Regions from separate parts of the Homo sapiens genome. Here all the other regions are linked to region 4. Evidence: promoter capture Hi-C in human tissues and cell types (Jung and others, 2019). All regions are on one chromosome and are shown on one strand. Each heading gives the region's core, a stretch centred on a gene start or on the middle of the fragment in contact. The rest is flanking DNA. Distances are from core to core; before and after follow the strand shown.

Region 1 (2,834 bases), core at 172-2,671, 290 kb after region 4:
TTTTAGCCTTTGGCTTATTGTAGAAACCAAGTAGGGTGGTGTTTGTAGTGGATACGAGATTTCTGTCCCATTATCTAATTTATCCTCGTGAAAAATTCCACATACATAAAAAGTAGTTTTTAAAGAGGTTCTTAAAGAAATGGGGATTATTATAAGGCAAGTAATTATTTCAATAAGTGACTGCCCAGGGTACACACACCCTTATCCCCGCTCTGCTGTGCTTATCAAGGATAAAGGCTTTCCCTTTCTCAGTTCCAGCAAGACAGCAATGAACTTACAAAGTCAAGTGAAATACCCAAAAAGTGTTCTTTTCCTAACCGGGTCCTCACCCGGTTAGGATCTGGGGTGTCTGGCTTTGTAGCTCTTGCCTTTAACAGGTTATTTTACCAACAGCAAAATTACTGTGCTGGGCAGTACACCTACTGCTGGGACAGGCGTCTCAGGCCAACCTGCGCATGCAGTCATGCAGGTGGCTTTTCCCTGTTAAGCAGGTAAAGTGGGCAGCCACTGTCCTTGGCCTGCGTCTTTCTTGCTCCATGTGCTTTTAAACCATTCAGATGAGACCGTGTGGGTCCTCCCTGACAGTCTGTGCTTGATGTCCTTATTATCGATGTTTGTTTGCAGCTGAGGAGTTTTTCATAGCAGTGTTGTGCATAGACCAGCACCGTGGAGGGGGAGTTTGTCATTTGAAGCTTTGACTCTAACCCCATTTCCCTTCTCTGCTCTTCCTGGGCCTGTCCAGGGTGAGGATCCACGACCTCCGCAGTGGTAACATCGCCCTGTCGCTCTCCGCCCATCAGCTCAGGGTCTCTGCTGTGCAGATGGATGACTGGAAGATCGTCAGTGGAGGCGAGGAAGGCCTGGTGTCCGTGTGGGATTATCGGATGAACCAGAAGCTGTGGGAGGTGTATTCCGGGTAAGGTGCATTCTAGACACTCTTGGGAGTTCCTAGTAGGAACAGGGAAGGCAGCACTAATCAGCCTGCACCAGGCACGGTGCTAAATGCCCCCTACCCCCCGGCTTCGCCAGGTGAATCCTTACTGTGACCCTAGGAGCCAGCTGCTGTCCCAGCACCGCTCTGCAGAGGAGGAAACAGGCTTGGAAATGGCGCTGGTCAGTGGGGATGCAGTTCCTGTCTCTGACATCATTCAGATCGCCACAATTCCTACATTAGCCAGGCCCAGCTTTCTCTAAGAATGAAACTACTTTTTTGCAAGTGCTATTCTGATTATTTTAGGATTTCTCCATCTTAATAAACAGAAAAGGGAACTCAAAAACATAGGAAGCTCGCTGGGCTAGACCAGGATGTGACACCCCACCTGCCCACAGGTGGAAGGCAGGGCTGGCCCAGCTGCTGTCCTCCACTCGAGTCCGTCATGTGTAACCATGGTTCTGCCCGTTGCTTAGACTTTCCTCATGCTGTTTACAGAGAAGAGCACTTAGGACTGAAGGGGTTCAGGCTCCAACGAAGGAGGAATTTGTCATTTCCACCTTTAACACCACTATTCAAAATATAAATAAATACTATCCTAAGCACAGGCTGATGGCGTCACAGAGGTAGGTAGGTTTACGCCAGTGGCACCTAACTGGTTAAGACATTTCCAGTGAGCCTGCTTCTGACCTTCAAAGCAGCAGCCCAGCCCAGGGCTGGCTCATCAGAGCTGACTTGAGCCCACCTGCCACCACCTCTACCTGGCCCTGCAGGCCTCGAACAGGAGACCCTGCGTTTGAGACAGGTGGGGAGAAAGGCAGCCGGCCCTCTCGCTTGCTGCCCTCAGCACCACTGTGAAGAGACATTCGGCCAGACACGTGGCTCACCTGTAATCCCAGCTACTCAGGAGACTGAGGAGCTCTCAAGGCCAGGGGTTTGAGGCTGCAGTGACTGTGTCACTGTACTCCAGCCTGGGTGACAGAATGAAACCCCATCTCTACAAAACCGAGATGATTCTGGGCCAGTGGCCTCTGAGCATGACAACATAGAAGAGCAGAAACAGGGCAAGGCCCTCCCACAGGAACTAAGATTTGTTCCCCACTTACCGCAAATCAAGGTAAACCGACCTCTGAGAACACAACCTCTGAGCAGCGACATGGTCTTTATGGAAGTGCAAGGTCAGCAATTTGACAGGTGTCTCCAAGAGGCGGCAGGGTTACATGCAGAATGGGCTTCTTCCTTGGAGGGCAGTGTTGGCAAACACTGTGGCCGGCACATTTTATCAGACAGAGCCCTGGGTACTGCCTGGCCCGCCCCCTCGCTGTGGCTGTGCCTGTTGAGGGCGCCTCGGCCCTTTTTCTGAATGGTGATGCACTGAATTGCCACCAGGTGGTGCCAAACGGCAACTAAAACTCCCGCACTGAAATTCCCGGAAGCATTGCCTTTGAGGAAAACCCTGGATCAGCCATCCAGGTCCTCAGGGATGGCTGCCAGCCCCCAACTCCAGTAGATCTCATTTTTCTCTCAGCAAAGCTTCACTCCCTGGGACAGGCCACTGAGATGAAGCCTAGCTAAGGAAGGCCTTCCCCAGAGGTGTGGCCCTGTCCCAGCACTGCCTCTGTCCCTGTGCGGTCCAGGCTTGTCCCCCACGTGGTCACTGTTTTCACCAGCACAAGGCTGACAGACACATGGTCTCCTGCCCAGAACTCACTGACTTGCTCAAGGCCTCACCTGCAGTGCCTGCTGCCAGGCCCCAGTCTGGCTGTTGTTTGGTCACTGTCATGTACCTCCCGCTGTCCGCTTCAGTCTCTTCAGCCCAGGTCCTCGCCTGCCTGACAGGGTGCCGTCAGTCCTCCAGGCTGCAGGCCTCCACCAAGCCTGCCCTCCCTCCCCGGGTCTTTCT
Region 2 (3,059 bases), core at 130-2,629, 260 kb after region 4:
TAGGGCCCCATATTCTCCTGTGTAAAGGGAGTAAAATCATGGTACCTATCTTACAGCACTGTGGAGGTCAGGTGAGATAACGCATCATAGCAGTGTTTTGCATGTAAGAGAATATTATAAATATTAGCTGTTATTAATAACTATTTTGGTAGGACAGGAAAGACATTGTGATATGGTCACAAAGTGGCGCAGGAATGACACGAGCTGCGCTCCACCTAGTGCCACCTCAGCTCCTTTTGTTGCCCATGTAATTTGGGGCAAGCTACTTAAAATTATTTAAGCCTCAGTTTCTTGATGCACAAAATGTAGGCAGTAGTATTTGTCTTCTCTCCCTCTTGGTGGTTGTGAGATTCAAATGGAAGGATATTCCGAAGGAATTTGTGTGAAAGGCATGTCCTGGGTATTACAAAGAGCTCATATGTGTAGTGTTTGTTTATGTGCAAAATGCTGCTAAGCATGTCTCTGCCAATACCTCATGCACCATGTAGAGTGAGTAGAGGCCGTTATGCCTTAGGGAGCTGGGGGGAGCCCCTGGGTGGACCTGCTGCCCTCCACCAAAGGCCCTGATTATTCGCTGCGGCTTCCCAGTCTCCCCCTGGGGCTATTTGTTTCAGTGATCTGATTTTAGCTGCCTGCCTGCCCTCTTCTAGAAGCTTTTGTCCAGTCTAACTTTGGGCCAAACTAGAAGTTGCCAGGCTAGTCAAAAGAAAATCGATAACCAAGCTAGTGTAATATACTGAATTTCATGTGCAATGTTCACTAAGTCCTGTCGGCATACAGATACTTGTACATTATGAGCATCTCATGGTAACCTTTTCATTTTCAAAATAGTATGCAAGTTGCCTTTAATTTTAAAGAGTTCACTTCATAGTTTGCAGCCTCAGTTTTCACTCCGTAAGATAGATATTATAACCTTCTCTTGGTGATTATTTCCGTGTGTCAGTGTTCCTGGCATTTTGACACTGCCCATGCTCTCTGTGGGGATGAGGCCTGTTGGGAGCATGAAGGAGGGTGTAAGGATTTTCAGCTCCCAGTCAGTCATACATTTGCACGATGGTTATCATCTCTTCGCTGGACTCACTGCTCTGACATGAATATTCCCTGTTTGTGTTATGTGAGCATTAACCAGGTCTTCATGATCACATTTCTTACCCTTACACCAGCACTGAGACAAAAATGATCCCAAAGCAAAGAGAGAACCATATTCTGCTCACTCCACAAAGTAGGCCTGGCCTTCCTTTATTATTCCCAGCACCTACGGACGTGCTGAGAGAGAGAGATTGGCCGGTTTGGATGGTTTTTGCCTGGATTTGTACCCGAGTGTACTCTTGCTCTGTGGGTTCCTTTCAGGCTTAGGTCACAATAGGTGTTGGTTTGGCCTCACTCCGGTCCTTTGTAGACATCTGCCCACATCACAAAGCCCCCATGTTTGGCACAGCCCGCAGCAGTTGGCACTGCCTGCCCGGGAAGAGTCCAGTCCTGGAACAGCGGGGGTTGCAGGTGCATTGGCACGTGGTGGTGGGGAGCGCACACAGGCCTTGCCTACCCAGCGCCTGGCGACGCTCAGCAACACCGTCCCATCCCTGAAATATCTTGGCCTCGTGGGCTTGTCACTCCAATTAAAACTTAAACATGAAAGCGGCTCAGGCTGCTTCTCCCTTTGTGCTGAATTTGAGCATGGACGGTGCCAGAAGCATGTCGTGGAGACTGTTAAGGGGTGCCATGTTGCAGGGAACGTTGAGGGGGTCAGGGATCCATTTCTTCAAGATTTGCATCTTGCCGGTTGCTGCTGCGAAGTGCACCTGAAAGGCAAGCTTCTGTTTGCCAACAGAAAGTCACCTTTGGGATGGTGGTGAAAGTCATTTTCCACATGTTCACAGATACGGCCGTGTTACCAAGCCTCACGCTATGACTTATCTCTGGCAAGGACTTACAAAATAGTCTCTCTGGCTGATTGTCAAAAATTACATCATATCGGAGTAAACTGCTTTTAAATCAGACATCCATTATTCATGTATATTAACTGCATTTTTATTTTTTTATTGGCTGTTTTGTGTATGATTTACTCTTTTGTCACTGGCTCCCCCTCTCCCCAGTTGTCTATCTTTCTCATTCCTGTTTTTTTAAAGTCTTAGCTCATCTGTGAATTTATAGAGACTGTTCACCTAGCTTTGTGCATGAACGTTGATAGGCACACCTTGCATTTTTGTAGTTCAATTCCACGTTTCTGTGGATCTTACTTTTGTTGGGTCAGAATAGCAATGTGGGTCGTTTATGTGAGTAAATTCTACCATGAAGATGTATAGGACTTTTTCTTTTGTATCTTTTGTTTTTTAAAAAGGAGCATCACTAGTCTTGTATGTGAAGATCTGTACTGAATAAAAGTGTACCTGGCACTTAGCAAACAGCTGTATACATTGCAGTTGGTGGACAGCAAATCGACTTTGTGTGTTCATTTGTATGCGTGAAGCCTGTCTTTACTGTAAGGCCAGCATAGCAGTCGCCTGTAAGGGGTAGATACACGCAGACATGTACAGTGTGTATTCATCTGCTCATTCTTTCATCACCTGTATACTGAGCCCCTCCTATGTGCCAAACACTGCACAGGTATCCAAAGGAGCTTCTGTTCCTTCCAGACAGTGCGGGGGGCGCACCCTGGGCATCTGGCATCTTCCATGGTTATGGTACTTTTTCCTGATTCATGGCATTTGACTGGTTGGAATAAAGACTAGGTACAGATTATTCTATGTATTTAACCCCCAAATCAACATTGTTTTTGCAGACAGCATCTGGATTCTTTTATGCTCATTACTTGAATCTTTGTTGACTATTTCTTCCAGCACCTCAGACCTTTTTTCTGGAATGATTTTCTGTCTCCCAAAAGTGCATTCTTTAGAAGTTTCTTTCATAAGGACTTGGTCACAAGTGTTTTCCGTGTTTCTTTCTTACAGCACCTTCATTTCATCCTTATCCTTGAAAGGTAGTTTTGCTAGTCTTTTACAGTTCTAGCTTGACAGTTATTTTTGCTCAGCCTTTGAGGATATGACTGGTTTTGCCTT
Region 3 (3,125 bases), core at 355-2,854, 460 kb after region 4:
GGAGGCAGAGGTTACAGGCAAAGCCATAAATCAATTACATGGAGGCTATCCATTGGTTTGACCTAAAAAGGCGGGACATTTGGAAGCAGAGGCCCACAGGTCATAGGTAGATTCAAAGGTTTTTTGTTGTTGTGTTTTTTGTTTTTTGTTTTTTTGAGACACAGTCTCACTCTGTCGCCAGGCTGGAGTGCAGTGGCACGATTTCAGCTCACTTCTACCTCTGCCTCCTGGGTTCAAGTGATTCTCCTGCCTCAGTCTCTGTAGCTGGGACTACAGGCGCACGCCACCACACCCAGCTAATTTTTTGCATTTTTAGTAGAGACGGGGTTTCACCATGTTGGTCAAGATGGTCTCGATCTCTTGACCTTGTGAGCCGCCCGCTTTGGCCTCCCAAAGTGCTGGGATTACAGGCGTTAGCCACTGTGCAGGGCCCTGGATTCAAAGATTTTTTGACTTGTATTTGGTTAAGGAGGTGAAGCTTTGTCTAAAAAAATTGAGATTTGCAGTAAAGAATGTTAGCTCTGGCTGGTAGCCGTGATCTCCTCTAGACCCCACAGGAAGAAATTTAGAACAAAAAACAGTGGTCAGGGTTCGGTCCTCAGTTTCTCTTTATGTGAGGTCTACGGCCAGTGGGTCTGTTTGGTGGGGGTCTGGGATCCTGAAAAACAACCCACAGACGTGTGTTAAGACACTATCCTTAGTTTCTGTAAGCGAACCAGACATCCCATGATTCTAACTTTCTTGCTAGTGTTTTGAGCTACTATTACCTTCTTGCTTATCAAGTCACTCATTTACTTCTCAGCAAGGTGCCTGGAATTACTAGCGAGGTGCCTGGAATTTCCCTTGAAGGAACTCAAAATTTTTCTTCATTTCCATGCTTGGGAGTTCCTGCTCTATCCCACAGTCCCTGCTAAAATCACCCTGCACAAACTCAAATCCTAGAATAAGTCCCTCTGGGATCCCTCCTCCCTGGCTTCCCAGTGGTCCTCTAGGGTGGCCTCTCCCTTGCTGCAGCAAGGTAAAAACTTATCTTTGTTGGACTACAGATGAATTTCTCGTTATTTTTGGCTGGCGAGGTCAACACCCCTCTCCAGTGAAATCTCCACAATCTAGCCGCAGATACCATTTCAACTACCCTCAACACTGTCCACACCTGTTTTGCCAAGATCCAAGCTCCCATTCTTTCTGTAATTTTAAGATGTTAATAAGTTTCCAAACTCCATGGCAGCGGGGAGGTGAGTAATCTTTTGGTGGGCCTCTTCCGTGTGCATGTTCATAAATTTGTATGCCCATTCTCTCTTTCTCTCTCTTTTTGTTTTGGAGACAGGGTCTTGCTCTGTTGACCAGACTGGAGTGCAGTAGAGCAGTAATAGCTCACTGCAGCCTTGAACTTCTGGGATGAAGCCATCCTCCTGGCTCAGCCTCCCAAGTAACTGGGACTACACGTGTGTGCCACCATGCCTGGCTATTTTATTTTTTGAGATAGAGTTTCGCTCTTGTTGCCCAGACTGGAGTGCAGTGGTGTGATCTTGGCTCACTGCAACCTCCACCTCTTGGGTTCAAGCAATCCTCCTGCCTCAGCCTCCTGAGTAGCTGGGATTACAGATGTCTGCCACCACACCCAGCTAATTTTTTTGTATTTTTAGTAGAGACGGGGTTTCACCATGTTGGCCAGGCTGATCTTGAACTCCTGACCTCAGGTGATCCAGCTGCTTCGGCCTCCCAAAATGCTGGGATTACAGGCGTGAGCCATCGCGCCTGGCCTATGCCTGGCTATTTAAAAAAAAATTTTTATAGAGATGGGAGCTTGCACTGTTGCCCAGGCTGGTTTTGAATACCTGGCTTCAAGCAATCCTCCTGCCTTGGCCTCCCAAAGGCCTTTTCTCTTATTAATCTGCCTTTTGTGAGTTGATTTTTCAGTGAAACTTCTGAGGGCAAAGGGGAAGTTTCCCTTAGTCCCTACAGTGTTCCTTGTCCTCATAATTAGTACTTACATCCTTTCTTTTCTGGTCCACTTCTCTGCCCACCTGAGGGCCTTTGCTGATACGGTTCCTTTTCCCAGGAGTGCCTCCTCAGCCACACCTACTCATCTTTCAGATTTCTGCTCAAGTGCTCCTCTGTAGGAACACAAGTCCATGAACCCAGGCTAGGCAAGCTCCTTCTGCCTTGTGCCTTCTCAGAACCCTATGCCTTTCATTCAGTACACACTCACAAACTGTAGGAATGCATACATGGCCATGATTACTAGATTCACCCTCCCGCAGGGGCAGATCTGGGTTTAGTGGAGCCCGGAGCTTACGCTGTTTGGAGGCCCTATTTTATTGTATTTTATTTTAAGACGGAGTCTTGCTCTGTTGCCTAGGCTAGACTGTAAGTCTCGCTCTGTAGCCCAGGCTGGAGTGCAATGGCGTGATCTTGGCTTACTGCAACCTCCGCCTCCCAGGTTTAAGCGATTCTCTCACCTCAGCCTCCCAAGTAGCTGGGACTATAGGCACACATCATCATGCCCAACTAATTTTTATATTTTTGGTAGAGATGGTGTTTCACCATGTTGGCCAGACTGGTCTCAAACTCCTGACCTCAAGTGATCTGCCTGCCTCGGTCTCCCAAAGTGCTGGGATTACAGGTGTGCGCCATCACACCTGGCCTGGAGGCCCTGTTTTAGAAAAGAGATACACAAGGATGAATTCACAAGTACACAAGAGTACTAGAAAGAGTATGTAGAATGAGAAAATAAGTGGCCTTGGAAGGGAGGGATCTTTCCAAGGGAGGGGCCTTAAAGTTAAGCTTCATCACTTCCATCAAATCTCTTTCTATAATATAGCAACTGGCTGGGCACAGTGGCTCACGCCTGTAATGCCAGCATTCTGAGAGGCCGAGGTGGGTGGATCACCTGAGGTCAGGAGTTCAAGGCCAACCTTGCCAACATGGTGAAACCCTGTCTCTACTAAAAAATACCAAAAAAAAAAAAAAAAAAAAAAAATTAGCAGGGTGTGGTGGCACATGCCTATAATCCCAGATACTCGGGAGGCTGAGGCAGCAGAATTGTTTGAACCTGGGAGGTGGATGTTGCAGTGAGCCAAGATCATGCCACTGCACGCCAGCCTGGGCAACAGATTGAGACT
Region 4 (2,953 bases), core at 229-2,728:
ATTCTACCAATCAAGTTATGCACAAAAAGCATAAAAGGAACTGTGGGTCCTTTTGAGTCACCCAGGAGGACACAGAGCCCCCAAATTAAACGAAGGGCACCCATGCGAGGGCTGGCCGACCCTCGCCACCTATGTCTTGGTTTCCCCCACTGTAATACTGGGAACCCCACTTCTCCCAGGCCTGCTGCGAAGATGAAGCCAGCAAATGCACGCCCTCTCTTAGCTCTGGACCGGGCAGGTGAAAAGCAGGGAGGTGTTCATAAAAGCAGTCCCCACCGCTGAAGGGTCCTCAACTCGGGGTTCTAGTCCCAGCTCTGCCCTGGCCTAGCAACCCCTTCCCGCTGCAGGGACCAAGGCGGTGGGCAGGTCCCTCACCCGTGCTGAGACCGGGACAGGAATGCGCACCTCTCCCCACCCTCGGACGCCCCGGCGGCGCCGCTGCAGAAGTCGGGAGGTCGGACAAACGCGAGGAGTAAGGAAAAAGAGGAGGAAGGGAAGGAAGGAGGAAGAACGAAGTGAGGAAAGAGGATGTCAGGGAAGAAAGGGAGTAAAGGAAGAAGGAAGGGAGAGGGGGACAGAAAGGAGGAGGACGGAAGGAGGAAGGGAAGGAAGAAAGACGGAAGGGAAGGGAGAGGAAAAAGGGGAGGAAAGAAGAAAGGGAAGGGGGAGGAAGGAAAGGGGGAGGAAGGAAGGAGGAGGAAGGTGAGGAAGGTAAGGAAGGAAGGGAGGCAGGGAGAGGGGAAGGAAGGAGGAAGATAAGGAAGGAGGGGAGGTAGGAAGAAGGGAAGGAAGGAGGAAGGAAGGGAAGGGGAGAAAGAAAGGAAGGGAAGGGGTAGGAAGACAGGGAGGAAGGAAAAAAGGAGGAAGGTAACGAAGGAAGGAAGGAGAAAGTAAAGTAAGGGGGAGGAAGGAAGGAAGAAGGGAAGGGGAGGAGGGGAAGGGCGGCCACTGACCTGCTTGAAGGTGCTGCTGAGGAAGTAGACGAGCGACAGCCCGAAGACCAGGGCGAGCACCCACCTCTTCCGCAGAAGCCGGCGCCACACCATGGCCGCCAGGTTCACCATCCCGGCGCGGACGTGGGGCGCGGCGGCCGGGGCGCGGAACGCGGCAGGCCCGGGTCCCGGGCGGCATGGCCCCTACGCGCCCGGCAGCCCCATCCCTCCAGGCAGGCGCCGGCCCCGCCGCCCGCAGCCCAGTCTGCTCCCGGCAGCCTTGGGCGCAGCCCCACGTGACCCCGCCCTACGCCCCGCCTCCGCTCCGCAGCGACAAGGGCTAGTCGCGCAAGATCTTCTCACCATTGGTCCCTAAGGAACGGCGGCCTCCTATTGGTTAAGTGCCGGGAAAGGGGGCGGACAATCGCGTGAGTGCTGCGGGCGTAGCTGTGCCCGGGTCCTAGCGCCGGACCCGGCGACGCCAAGAAACCACCCAATAGGAGGCCGGAAGCATCGGAAGTCACATGCTGCCCAGGCTGCGCGGGTGATTGGCTTGGCTGGACCTGAATGATGCGGCTGTGATTGCTGAATTGTCTGGGCAGGTAAAAAGAGAACGCGATTTTTTTTTCTTTTCTCCCATCATGGTCTGTGTAGTCTCCTGCCCTTGCAGTCCCAGAGCGTTTTGCGCTGTGTGTTGGTTGCAGGGATGAAAAGCGCTCGCGACGTTGTTCCCGAAGTGCACCTGCCGGCTTCCAGTCCAAGTGATGCAGGCGATGCTCCTCTGAGTGCATTTCGGTGCAGTCCTGTAACGGGCCCCAGGGGCGCAACTTGAACCATCGCAAGCATCGAAAAGTCTCGGTGCGGTCCTTCAAAGGGACATAGTGGGATGTACAGAGCAGAGGATTAAAAAGCGTTTCATTCATTCAGATGCATCCCGCGTGCAAAAATTTATTCCAGAATTATGTACGGCCTGCTTCCGACAAAGAATCCGAAGCCTCTTCCAATACAAGCATCCGAAAGTAGAGTTTCGAGCATTCGATTTAGGAGTTAAATGTGTGGATGAGAACTTTGGAATATGAATTTTATTTTCCCCCAAGGATTTGCAATGTGGGATAATGGAGGGAGGGGCGAGAGGAGGATTAAGTTGAGATTGCAAATTCTTGAAAAATATTTATATAATGACCTTTTCTTGATATATGAAGATGCTGCTGCTGACCGGTTTGTTACCTAATTTTTCAAAAGAGAAAGGAGGCTTCACTGGCGGGTCATTTTTAATCAGTGGCCCTAGTGACACCATTGCTGCCCCCTCAAGAAGCCTGGTCAGGATTAGGAAGTCATTCAACAGCCAATAATCGTGCCCTAAACTGAAGTCAGACACCATCTGACTGATATAGACACCCTATATCCACAATATTGGCTCTGCCTCCAGAGACAAGAAGATATTCACGGAGGCTAAACCTTTTCATGGGAAGTAGATGGCCCTTATTACCTTGCTAGGGTGAAAGGTGGGACAGGGAGCAAGGGATCTAGAAAAGGGGAACTGGGAGACCCATAGATGTTTTATTCATTGAGTAAATACTTGTTGAGCGCCACTCTGTGCCAAACAGTGTCCTGGATGCTGAGGCAGAGGGGTGATCCAAGTAGACAGGATCCCTACTTTCAGGAATGGCATTTATATTCTAATGGGGAGGACAAATCATAAATAAATAAGCAAACATGAACAAATAAGTGCTATGAATAATATAAAACAGGGCAATATTACGGGGAGTCAGGAGAATGAGAAGAGAAGGCCTCTGGGAAGAGACGACATTTGCCCTGCGGGACCAAGCCCTGCCACATTTAGAGGAGAAAGTATTCCAAGGGGAGGGCACAGCAAGTGCAAAGGCCCTGAGGCAGGGACACGCTGACACATTAGAGGAACAGAAGGGCCACTGTGGGTGGACAGGAGTGGGAAAAGGGAGAATGGGAGGAAATGCAGTTGGAAACAGATGATGCTACATCAGGAAGAACCCGTAGGCTAT

Evidence for each region. Contacts are between HindIII fragments. The study calls those that stand out against the background at their distance.
Region 1: a fragment that was not itself captured here is called in contact with the fragment with the promoter of RNFT2 in region 4 in 1 of the 25 tissues and cell types used here (spleen).
Region 2: a contact is called between a fragment that was not itself captured here and the fragment with the promoter of RNFT2 in region 4, in 1 of the 25 tissues and cell types used here (thymus).
Region 3: a fragment that was not itself captured here is called in contact with the fragment with the promoter of RNFT2 in region 4 in 1 of the 25 tissues and cell types used here (spleen).

Annotation. Positions count from the first base shown.
Region 1 is chr12:117,023,405-117,026,238 of GRCh38, forward strand. FBXW8 (F-box and WD repeat domain containing 8) reads left to right here. Exons shown (of 11, transcript NM_153348.3): 9 at 743-916. Among named protein-coding and RNA genes, the nearest start is that of TESC, 75 kb to the right of the region's middle. RefSeq lists enhancers at 721-1,920, 1,240-1,775, 1,776-2,311. The HindIII fragment of the contact is 3,500 bases long and covers 1-2,834 here.
Region 2 is chr12:117,000,715-117,003,773 of GRCh38, forward strand. The region is part of intron 7 of FBXW8 (F-box and WD repeat domain containing 8); the gene reads left to right. Among named protein-coding and RNA genes, the nearest start is that of FBXW8, 91 kb to the left of the region's middle. The HindIII fragment of the contact is 4,366 bases long and covers 1-3,059 here.
Region 3 is chr12:117,196,483-117,199,607 of GRCh38, forward strand. No RefSeq gene overlaps it. Among named protein-coding and RNA genes, the nearest start is that of FBXO21, 7.6 kb to the left of the region's middle. The HindIII fragment of the contact is 3,668 bases long and covers 1-3,125 here.
Region 4 is chr12:116,736,837-116,739,789 of GRCh38, forward strand. It overlaps RNFT2 (ring finger protein, transmembrane 2), which reads left to right and starts at 1,479. Exons shown (of 11, transcript NM_001382266.1): 1 at 1,479-1,534. It overlaps SPRING1 (SREBF pathway regulator in golgi 1), which reads right to left and starts at 1,233. Exons shown (of 5, transcript NM_024738.4): 1 at 954-1,233. The coding sequence starts at 1,064. RefSeq lists enhancers at 1-733, 1,502-1,761 and silencers at 922-971, 1,052-1,311. The HindIII fragment of the contact is 23,901 bases long and covers 1-2,953 here.